Regions from separate parts of the Homo sapiens genome. Here region 2 is linked to region 1. The links are contacts of gene promoters, found by promoter capture Hi-C in human tissues and cell types (Jung and others, 2019). All regions are on one chromosome and are shown on one strand. The core of a region is centred on a gene start or on the middle of the fragment in contact, and the rest is flanking DNA. Distances in the headings are between cores, read along the strand shown. Region 1 holds the start of SKOR1 (SKI family transcriptional corepressor 1). Region 2 overlaps MAP2K5 (mitogen-activated protein kinase kinase 5).

Region 1 (5,859 bases), core at 1,886-4,385:
GGCGCCTGGGTGCGGGCTAAGAGGGGCGGGGTGCGACTAGTAACTCAAACGAAGAAGTAGAGACAGATTGAGAGAGGAAGAGAAGGGGACCCAGTGGGGCGTTAGGGGAAAGAATGGTGAAGACGGAGAGACCGACTGAGACAGGAAAGGGATGGAGAGAAACGGAGCTTTGAGGAGAGAGAGGAGGTACCCAGGGGCGTCTGTAGCATCAGAGGACTGGACCTCCCCCTTGGGGAAACTGGCTTAGCAGCGTTGAGAGCGTAGTTAACCTCAGATCACTCCCAACGATGACTTGGCTCCTGCCCTGGGCCTGTTGGTGATGGCGAAGGGAGGCATTCAAGGCCGAGGGCTCCCCAAACCTAGTTCCCAAGTCCCCTGCCCAGGGACGGAAACAGGAGAACGCCCCTCCTCAGGTTAGAGCTCTCTCTTGATACCTCCCACCGAAGTCAGGAGCATGGGAGAGGCAGATCTGCTCCTTCCCGGGTGCCATCCTCGCTGCCCTGCACCCAGGTCCCTGTCCCGGTCTCTGGTGACCCTACTGGTTCCCGAGGGCCACTCTAGGCTCCACCACCCTGGCCCTCGCCTGCGGCCGGAAAGTGAAGTACTCCTCCCTGCGCCCGTTCCTCTTGAGTCCCCCTTAGCCCCATCACCCGGTTTTGGCCCAGACCAAAACTGGCTCCTTGGCCGGGAGCACTGGGCCCTCCCCACTTCGTTCTTGGGGACAAACTTTATGGCCCCAGGGCCTTTCCTCCCTCCTGGCCTCTCCAGCTAGAGCGGGACGCAGGTGCAGGGTGCTGGACGCAGGTGTGCGGCCGCTTACCTGGGGCGTGCAGGCCTTGGGCTGCGGGGAGGCGGCGGGCGCCGCGCGTGGCCCGCGGGCGGGCGGACCCGGGGAGGGCGCTAGCGACTGCGCGGGCGGTGGGTGTGGCGCCCCGGCTCTCAGCTGTCAGGCGCGCCTGCCCCGCCACTCGGGCTGTGACCGCGCCGTCCCCGCCGCCGCGCCATGCGCTCCAGGCTTCGGCCTCTTCTTCCGGCCAGTCCCCGGCCTCGGGGTCAACGGCTCAGGGTTCGCATCTCCGCGCCCGGGGTCCCGGCGCCCCGTGCCCGCTGAGAGCGGGAGGGGCCGCGGGTGGGAGCGCGGAGAACCAGGGAGCACGGCTGTGCGCGCGCGCGGGGAGGGGCCGCGCCGTCACCCGGAGAGCCCGGCGGATCCCGGACTCCCGCCCGCCGCTCCTCCCGCCGCGCACCTCCGCTCACCGCTCGCCCGGCTCCAGCCGCCGCCGCACTGTGAGTACCCACGTCCGGTAGCCCGCCGCCCCCGCGCTCTGCTCCTGCAGCTTTTTTTTCGTTTAGTTCTGATTTGGGCTCCTGTGGCTGTTGTTTTTATGATTATACCTAAAGACACCACCGCCTCGCTCCCACCACTGCCAGTCTCCCGCTTCGCTGCCCTCCCCAAGCTCGTCCATCTAGCTCCGGGAGCCGACGGGGGTTCCTCAAGCTGCTCTGGCTGCTGCTCCTTGTCGCTGCATATGGCTCTTCGCCTGTGCTTTCCGCTTTGGCCCCCGAAATTCCGTTCCTTTCCTAGGGACCCCCTTCTTCTGACTCCGGGCCCGGACCCCCCTCCTCTCACTCAGGGAAAACCGCGCAGGGACCCAGGACCCTCAACTGGGGTACGCTCTCGGCTCGGGCGCTGTCTTCACTGTATGCGGGCCAGGCATAGTTGCCGATTTCGAGAAACCGAGAAGCTGTCATTTCCCAGCGCTGCGCGCCCTCCAGCCACCTCCAGGAGGGCGCGAGGCTTGTCAGCCGGGGAGTTAGGACAGTGTTTTTGCCTCCTACAATGATATAAAGGACTTCAACGCGAAATAAGGGTCAACTTATTTTAGTTCGATCCTCGGAGATAAAGATGAAACAGACAGATAATACATAAATAGCTTGATACTTGAAGAAGGTACAAAACAGATGAGAGAAAGAGGAACGAGCCGGCAGAGACAGCTCAGGGACAGATAAGATCGACAAATGAGGGTCTCCTAGACAAATAGAGAAGAAGGGAGAGAGACAGATAAACAGAAGATTCCAGTCTCCTTGCTGAAGGCTTTTGAACTGGGATCCCCTGTCTGGAGCTGCCCCTCTGAAAACGGAGTTACATTCAGGGCCGACTGCAGGGGAGGAGCCCTCAGGGTTGGGCTGCCCTGGCCGCAGGAGCGCCTGCAGCCTTGGGCCGGATGGGAGCCTGGCTTGTCTGAGGACATGTGGCTGGGTCAGGCGACCTAGAGGGCCCCAAACATCAGTCCCCAAGTACCCCCGCTGCTGAGGTCTGCCTGCACAGCTCCCTCCCTGCCTCAGCCAGAAAGCAAAGTGCAAGGACCAGCAGCAACTTGTGTGCCTGGAGCCTTGCAATGGCTACGAAGATGGCTGAGATTCCTTCTAGCCCATATGAGCCGGGACAGCGAGGCATGAAGGATACTCAGAGAGGTGATGCCCCTCAAAGAGGAAGCCCAGAGCCCCGAATCCTGCAGTTGGCCCGAGTGGGAAACGTATATCTGAAGGAGGAAAGCTCAAGGAGTGGGCGACTGGAAGCTAAGAAGTGGATCCCAACAAAGTTCCTTGAGAACCTCTCTGTCCCACACGTTGACCTCGGTGGAAACCAGCTTTGGTCTGGAATACAGCTAAAAATGCAGAAAATGTGGTTAGAACTGCAGGATCCTGGTCTCACTAATAGCTGGAAAGAAAACGGTTTATATATCCAGCCGAAATCTTTCTGCTCAACGAACGCGGGCGCCAGCCGTGAGAGGAGAAGCTCGGGTTTGTGGAAACTGGCAATGTTGTCCCCTGAAGCCGGCTCGGGCACCAAGCTGGGTGCGGTGGGGGCCGCGCTAGGTCCGGGTGCGCACCGAGCGCTTTGGAGAGGGTCAGGTTCAGCACCGCGAACAGCGGTAGCCTCCGCCTCTCTCCTTCCCTGGCAGACACGGTTCCCTCCTCCTTCTCCTCACCCCCCTCCTTCTCTTCACCCCCCTCTACCCCCTGCTGTCTGGAGATGGGCAGTGACCGCCCCTCCCCCCTCCCCACCCCTCCTTGCACTGCCCCCGCCCGCCCGCGTGCATGCGCGACTGAGCAGAGGGGCGGCCGATCCCCGAAGTCCGGGCTTCAGGACCCGGGCCGGCAGCACCGGCTGCGAGGGTTGCCGAAGGCGCACGGATCTGGGCGCTGAAAAAGCCAGGATTTGGCAATGGCTTTGCTGTGTGGCCTTGGGCAAGTCACTCTGCGTATCTGGGTTTCACTTCCTTCCCAATCCGAAAACGGGATTGGGTTCCTTGCAGCCCGGGCATTCCTGAGGTCTCCTTTACCCCTTCTCCTCCCCCAAGCCCCGGGGGCTGTTGTTAACGGCGCCAACATGGGTCTGAGTAACAAAAGACGCCTGTCCAGGGGGTGAATGAGTTTGGACTCCCCACTGCCAAGTATCCCCCGCGCGCCCAACTCGGAGCGCCCTGCTGGGCGGGCCCGAGCCTCGGCGGCGGCGCTGAAAATGGCTCATCTGCTCTCTGCTTTCTCTATTTCGCAGGAGCGGCGGCATGGAGGCTCTCACCACTCAGCTGGGGCCGGGGCGCGAGGGCAGTTCCTCGCCCAACTCCAAGCAGGAGCTGCAGCCGTACTCGGGCTCCAGCGCTCTCAAACCCAACCAGGTGGGCGAGACGTCGCTGTACGGGGTGCCCATTGTGTCGCTGGTCATCGACGGCCAGGAGCGCCTATGCCTGGCGCAGATCTCCAACACCCTCCTCAAGAACTACAGCTATAATGAGATCCACAACCGCCGCGTGGCCCTGGGCATCACGTGCGTGCAGTGCACGCCGGTACAGCTGGAGATTCTGCGTCGGGCCGGGGCCATGCCCATCTCGTCGCGCCGCTGCGGCATGATCACTAAGCGAGAGGCCGAACGCCTGTGCAAGTCGTTCCTGGGCGAGCACAAACCACCCAAGCTGCCCGAGAACTTCGCCTTCGATGTGGTGCACGAGTGCGCGTGGGGCTCGCGTGGTAGCTTCATCCCTGCGCGTTACAACAGCTCTCGTGCCAAGTGCATCAAGTGCGGCTACTGCAGCATGTACTTCTCGCCCAACAAGTTCATCTTCCACTCGCACCGAACACCCGACGCCAAGTACACGCAGCCCGATGCCGCCAACTTCAACTCCTGGCGTCGTCACCTCAAACTCAGTGACAAGTCGGCCACAGACGAACTGAGCCATGCTTGGGAGGACGTCAAGGCCATGTTTAATGGCGGCACGCGCAAGCGGACCTTCTCCCTACAAGGAGGCGGCGGAGGCGGTGCCAATGGCGGGTCGGGTGGGCAGGGGAAGGGTGGTGCTGGCGGCGGTGGCGGCGGTGGCCCAGGGTGCGGTGCAGAGATGGCCCCAGGCCCGCCGCCCCACAAAAGCCTGCGCTGTGGCGAAGATGAGGCTGCCGGGCCTCCGGGGCCACCTCCACCCCACCCGCAGCGCGGACTTGGCCTGGCGACTGGAGCTAGTGGCCCGGCGGGCCCAGGAGGGCCCGGTGGCGGCGCCGGCGTACGAAGCTACCCGGTGATCCCGGTGCCCAGCAAAGGCTTTGGGCTCCTGCAAAAGCTGCCCCCACCACTTTTCCCCCATCCTTACGGCTTCCCTACGGCCTTCGGCCTATGCCCCAAAAAGGACGACCCGGTTTTAGGCGCGGGCGAGCCAAAGGGCGGTCCTGGCACTGGGAGCGGCGGCGGCGGCGCGGGGACAGGCGGGGGTGCGGGGGGCCCGGGAGCCAGCCACTTGCCCCCGGGGGCAGGGGCGGGCCCGGGCGGCGGCGCCATGTTCTGGGGGCATCAACCCTCCGGGGCAGCCAAGGACGCAGCGGCAGTGGCTGCAGCGGCCGCCGCCGCCACTGTGTACCCGACGTTTCCCATGTTCTGGCCAGCAGCAGGCAGCCTCCCGGTACCGTCCTACCCCGCTGCTCAGAGCCAAGCCAAGGCCGTGGCGGCAGCCGTGGCGGCGGCAGCGGCGGCGGCAGCGGCAGCTGCTGGCAGCGGTGCCCCAGAGCCCCTGGACGGTGCCGAGCCAGCCAAAGAGAGTGGCCTCGGCGCGGAGGAGCGCTGCCCGAGCGCTCTGTCCCGCGGGCCCCTGGACGAAGACGGCACGGACGAGGCGCTGCCACCGCCCCTGGCCCCGTTGCCCCCGCCGCCCCCGCCGCCCGCACGCAAAGGCTCCTACGTGTCGGCCTTCCGGCCGGTGGTCAAGGACACCGAGAGCATCGCTAAGCTCTACGGGAGCGCCCGGGAGGCGTACGGCGCGGGGCCTGCTCGGGGGCCGGGACCCGGCGCTGGGAGCGGCGGCTACGTGAGCCCGGACTTTCTGAGCGAGGGCAGCTCCAGCTACAATTCCGCCTCGCCCGACGTGGACACCGCGGACGAGCCCGAGGTGGACGTGGAATCCAACCGCTTCCCCGACGACGAGGACGCCCAAGAGGAGACCGAGCCCAGCGCACCCAGCGCAGGGGGCGGCCCAGACGGTGAACAGCCCACTGGACCCCCTTCCGCCACCTCCTCTGGCGCGGACGGTCCCGCAAACTCTCCCGACGGCGGCAGCCCCCGCCCCCGGCGCCGCCTCGGGCCACCCCCAGCTGGCCGGCCCGCATTTGGGGACTTGGCAGCCGAAGACTTGGTGCGGAGACCTGAGAGGAGCCCGCCAAGCGGCGGCGGCGGCTACGAGCTGCGAGAGCCTTGCGGGCCCCTAGGAGGCCCCGCGCCGGCCAAGGTGAGCCCCGCGCCCGCCCCGCCAGTGGCGCCTTCCCACCTACCCTGTGCGCGGCAGGGCTGCGGGGCCGGGCGGAGAACGGGAATTT
Region 2 (5,529 bases), core at 1,694-4,193, 220 kb before region 1:
GGCAGTGCAATTCCCTGGAAATTGATTTTTTTTTTTTTCAGGGCTTGCAGTGGCTTTCCCCAAGCTTTAGCTATATGGAAAAGAACACCTTTATTAAATCCACTTAGTGAATAAAGTTGGCAGTTAATTTTTAAGCATCTGGACCAGTGTGTAGAAAATTACTGAATGCATCAAATAAAGTCTGACTAGTCTTAAAGTCATTTGATAAATAATTGTATAGGGAGCTCTCTAAACTCTAAAACATTATTTTATGGGCACCTACTATTCATAATACAAATGAGAGTAGTTATTTGTGGTATAATAGGTTTTATAGAACCTTGAAAAACATGCAAACTTATATATAAAGTTACGAAAATGACTTTAATAAAAATTACATGCCTATGTATTTTTCCTTTATGTATTATAATATTCGACTATATGTGCATCTTAAGTGCATTGATTTCGTGCTTTTCCATCTTCATAATATGATTTCTGCCTAATTATTGCTGTATACTAGTTTGTTATTTGCAAAGAAAAGCTATATCTACTCTAGGAAAATCATAAACATTATTTAGTTTGTTAAATGTTAATTATGGGGGTCATCTGAGGAGTTTTCTAGGGCTGATTTATTTACAGATCATGCATTAGATTACTGAGTGTGTGTGTGTATTGTCTTCCTAAGTTTGACTTTGGTTATGTGCAGTGCTCTTTGGCATTGGTTATATGCAGTACTGGAGACTGTTTTCTTATCAGTATCTCTGACCTGACCCTTTTGAGCTATGTTGTATCATTCCATTTTGACACCTTTTATCAAACTTTAATGAAATGACCCAGGCAAACAAATTGTCATTAAACTTTCCATCACTTCGTCCCTTGGTATCGTCTTTTATAAATTGGACAGCAAACGTTGTATTGATCTTCTCGTTTTTGCAGCTGAACTTGAAATGACCCAGACTGCTTGTTGTTTATGGCCCAGAGTTGCTTTTCCTTGACATTTCCATCCACAGCATGACACCCTTTTTGTTTTTCTTTCTTTCTTGTGGAGATGAATGAACAAGACATACGATATCGGGACACTCTTGGTCATGGCAACGGAGGCACAGTCTACAAGTGAGTAGTCAATTTTGTTTAAACTTTCTATCCGCTTTTCCAAATACTGAGTATCCAAGTTCTCTGTGGCAAAGATTTTTAAATGACCACTAACACTTAGATTTTATTTCCATATTTGACTCCAAAATTCTGCAAGACATCTATTTTCTCAAGAATTGCCTGGAAAGTGCATTTATATTGCCTTTTTAATATTTCCGAGTCTGCAACTCTCCTGGGTGTGTAGTTAATAGTCCACCATTAGTAAGTGTACCTTTAACTGGCCTGAAGTTTAATGCATTTTTTTCCTTTGCTTTTTAACACTATTATTATTATTTTTTAACTTGCTAGTACCCTACGCTAGTCCCCTGCCTGTTTACAGTTATGCCCAGTGGAAGCCAGACCTTATAAATACCATTGCTTTGCCCTGTGTCAACACTATAAGTTATTAAAAAGCCTTCTTCCTGTTGTATTTTCTTCTCTCCTCACCCTACTCCCCTGAGATAATTTCTACACATTGATGAATATGTTAAGTTATAAAGTTCTCCCAAATTCCAGTTGCAGTGATCTTACCCCAAAGGAATGTTCATTTTCATCTTAAAAAATGCTAGCCATAAAAAATAGTTCTCCGACAGGGAGGTCTTCTCATGCAGTAGTGCAAAGTTTAAACTACATAATGTAATATCTGGTACTTAATAGTCTGCAATGGTGTATGAAAAATATTCCACTAGGAATTAAAAAATCCATACTCTGTAAGAAAGCCCTGAGGGAATAATAAAACTTTCCTCCAGAGAGCTGGTTTTCCATGTATACACTAATCCTGCATCACATTATGGTTGTGATATTAGATCACAACCACAGATACTTTAACATTGATATTAATATGTATTTCCAGAGTTGTAAAATAATTAACTTATTTTCTAATTGGTTACCCATGTTCTTAGAATTTTAAGTTCTGACTAACCACATGAATACACATAAAAATTGCCCTATTCTATGACCATGAAGGTTCACATCCTAAAAATCCCAGAACATCCCCTACTCATTGATGCAGCCTTGGTATAGAATTTGATTTCTCAGGCTTAGAAGCTCTTTTGAAGTAATCTGATCCAGTCACCCATTCAGGGCTTCAGTGCCCTTTGCAGATACAGCCAAGATGTGAGTCCTTTCTCCTGAATATAGTCCTTTAAGAACTTATGTTCACATGTTTGGATTGTTTTTTCCTGCAGATGACTGAGTATTGTGAACAGTTGGTCTGAAAATGAAGTTCTTCCACTATGATAATTCAGAGAAATAAATAATAACATGTTTCTTACATGTTCCTTGGGCCTTGGGCCTGGCCCTTAAAATTGAGGTCCAATGTGTCTAATGATTTTTGCGGCTACTATTCTCTTTCCCTGGATCATACTAGCGTTCCTTCCCACGCAACCTCCACTATAAACGGTATCTTTTCATCTTAGTCTTCTCTTCCTTACGATCTGACTTAGATTTTTCCTGTGTTCTGAAGGTACTTAAGTTCAGGTACCCATAGAAAGGAAAGAGGAAGAAGGAACATGTATACTCTGATTTGCTTCTATTGAGTTCCCTGGAGGGAGCACTTTTCAAAGCTTGAACCTTTCTTCTTAATGCCTTTATGCTGATAGCCAAATATAATAAAACAGGAAAGATTTCTGGCAACTCTTTGTATTCCTTTTATTTGCTTCAAATGGAATTTAAAAATGTTTATTTAGACTCCTAACCTACTTATCTGTGTTATTTCACCAAACCTTTAGTTTTATATTAATTGAAGGTCTATTGTGAATTTATTTTCCTAGCTTATTTCTAGAAGGGAAGAAGCATAAGACCATGAAACCCCAGCAGAATTTTTACGAGACATAATATTCTAGATGTTGACATTTTAATCCTTTATTTTAAAACATAGGCTTGTTTGTTTGTTGGTTGGTTTGTTTATTTTGAGATGGAGTCTCGCTCTGTTGCCCAGGCTGGAGTGCAGTGGCACGATCTCAGCTCAGTGCAACCTCTGCCTCCCAGGATTCTCCTGCCTCAGCCTCCCAAGCAGTTGGGATTACAGGCGTACGCCACCATGCCCAGCTAATTTTTGTATTTTTAGTAGAGATGGGGTTTCACTATATTGGCCAGACTGGTCTCGAGCTCCTGACCTCGTGATTCACCTGCCTTGGCCTCCCAAAGTGCTGGGATTACAGGAGTGAGCCACCAGACCTGGCCAGGTTTATTTTTTAAAAGAGGGAGTATACAGAGAAGTGGAAAAAACATGCCCATCCCCCAAGGGAAAATTACAACATGAAATTATGTTAATGTTGTTTTTAAAATTGTTATTTTAAATTGTGGTGAAATACACATAACTCAAGTTAACATTTTAACCATATTTAAGTGTATAGTTAGTGGCATTAAGTACATTCACATTGTTGGCAACTGTTAACACCATTCATCCACAGAACTCTTCGTCTTGTGTAATCGAAACTCTGCACCCATTAAACAGTAACTCCCCCATCACTCTGTTAATGTTGTTTTTAGCTAAGAAGCATGGCTAGAACTTCTCCTTTAATTAGGGCTACTATGTCAAAGGGACCATTCTTCTATATGTCCTTGCCACAAGTTTTTTAATTTGCTAGAATGCTGTGTGTAACGTTAGGAATTTATCCTAAGAGCTCATTTAGCTACCGTTGCTAATGCTCACTGTGAGTGTTGTAAGATGTAATGTTTTTGACAGGATTGCTTATAGATGGTGAATGACAGTATCCTGATAATTTTCATTCTTATATAGTAGATTTCTTATAAAAAGAAATTTCATTTACCTTATTGCCTGTGTGATTCTTGAGAGGGGCGGTGAAGATACCAAATTGCATAACCGCTTGTCATTGATCATTGGGCATCATTTTTGCTCAGGCTTCAGCTTGTATTATTGTTCTTATATCCCTGGCTTTTAGTACAGTGCAAAGAAATGATATAATCATTGATAAATGAGGATCCACTTTACTAAAGTCTCTATAAAACTAAGTGTTTGATGTGTTATGATTGAGTTTCTTCTACACTAAGTTCACCTTAATGGTGTTGATGATAAAAAATATGGTTTTTCAAACAGCATGATTACATTATAGGCTATGCTACATAAACTAGATGAAGAAAATATTGGAAAATCCACTCATTGGTAACAAAACTGCCTAATAGGCTTATTCCATTTTTTTCTTTAAAGTGTAATAAAGCTAATAAGTGCAAAGCAAAAGTTTAATAATGCAGTCTTATTCACTTCACTTGATGGAATTTTGGGAATTTCAAGGGATATTATAATCGTGTAATTACAATGTATATGATTTAACAGTTGATACATTTTCCTCCTTTAAGTGTAGATATCCTTCACAGTTGTACAATATGAAATTCTGGCCCCAGACATTTAAACCAAATGGTAATGTGAATTCTGTGTGCTGTCTCCTGACGAGCTGTGCTCTATATTATGAGAGTGACTTAGGCAGGTAATTTTAAGTTGGTATTTCTTGGATTACTAATTTGGGCTACATGGAACATAAAGGAAATACCTTAAAGTATGGCCCAAGCCTAGGAAGAAGAAAAGTTTAGGAAAAGATAATGAATGTATTTTCCTTGTTGCCTCATTTCCTAAAGTGCTGCAAGTTGCTCCAAAAAAATAAATTCAGGAAAGACACATGTTCTATTTCCCTCTGAGAGATTCATAATGAATTTCAAAAACTTTGAGAAAGTAGAGAATAGTATGTGTTGTGGTTAAGTGTGAGGGCTCTAAGTTTGAATCCTGCCTCTGTCACTAATTAGCTACGTAACCTTTGGCAAGTTATATAATGTCTTATGCCTCAGTTTTCCCATCTGCAAGATGGGGATAATAATAGTATCTAGGTTGGGCGGGGTGCGGTGGCTCACGTCTGTAATCCCAGCACTTTGGGAGGCCGAGGCAGGTGGATCACGAGGTCAAGAGATTGAGACCATCCTGGCCAACATAGTGAAACCCCGACTCTACTAAAAATATAAAAATTAGCTGGGCATGGTGGTGGGCGCCTGTAGTCCCAGCTACTCGGGAGGCTGGGGCAGGAGAATAGCTTGAACCCGGGAGGTGGAGGTTGCAGTGAGCCGAGATTGTGGCACTGTACTCTAGCCTGGCAACAGAACAAGAAAAAAAAATTAATAGTATCTAGGTTGTTGTGAGGTTAAATGAGAAGATCCGTAAAAGGCTTAGCGCTATGACTGACACTTATTAAATGTTAACTACTGGTAATGGTAGTACTAATAATAGAAAAATTATTTACATTTTGTACTTCCTACCTTGACTTGGCCATGGGACTCTTTTCTTTTTTTTTTTTGAGACAGAGTCTCGCTCTGTCGCCAGGCTGGAGTGCAGTGGAAAGATCTCGTCTCACTGCAACCTCTGCCTCCCGGGTTCAAGTGATTCTCCTGCCTCAGCCTCCCTAGAGTAGCTGG

Evidence for each region. Contacts are between HindIII fragments. The study calls those that stand out against the background at their distance.
Region 2: a contact is called between a fragment that was not itself captured here and the fragment with the promoter of SKOR1 in region 1, in 1 of the 25 tissues and cell types used here (IMR-90 fibroblasts).

What each region holds. Positions count from the first base shown.
Region 1 is chr15:67,822,374-67,828,232 of GRCh38, forward strand. SKOR1 (SKI family transcriptional corepressor 1) reads left to right here and starts at 3,136. Exons shown (of 9, transcript NM_001365915.1): 1 at 3,136-3,336; 2 at 3,563-5,771. The coding sequence starts at 3,230. LOC124903570 reads left to right here and starts at 1,004. Exons shown (of 4, transcript XM_047433429.1): 1 at 1,004-1,066; 2 at 1,586-1,670; 3 at 2,266-3,029; 4 at 3,140-3,211. The coding sequence starts at 1,004. The coding sequence ends at 3,211. RefSeq lists enhancers at 4,404-5,042, 5,043-5,680. The HindIII fragment of the contact is 30,837 bases long and covers 1-5,859 here.
Region 2 is chr15:67,599,661-67,605,189 of GRCh38, forward strand. It overlaps MAP2K5 (mitogen-activated protein kinase kinase 5), which reads left to right. Exons shown (of 22, transcript NM_145160.3): 8 at 1,025-1,089. Among named protein-coding and RNA genes, the nearest start is that of MAP2K5, 60 kb to the left of the region's middle. The HindIII fragment of the contact is 8,159 bases long and covers 1-5,529 here.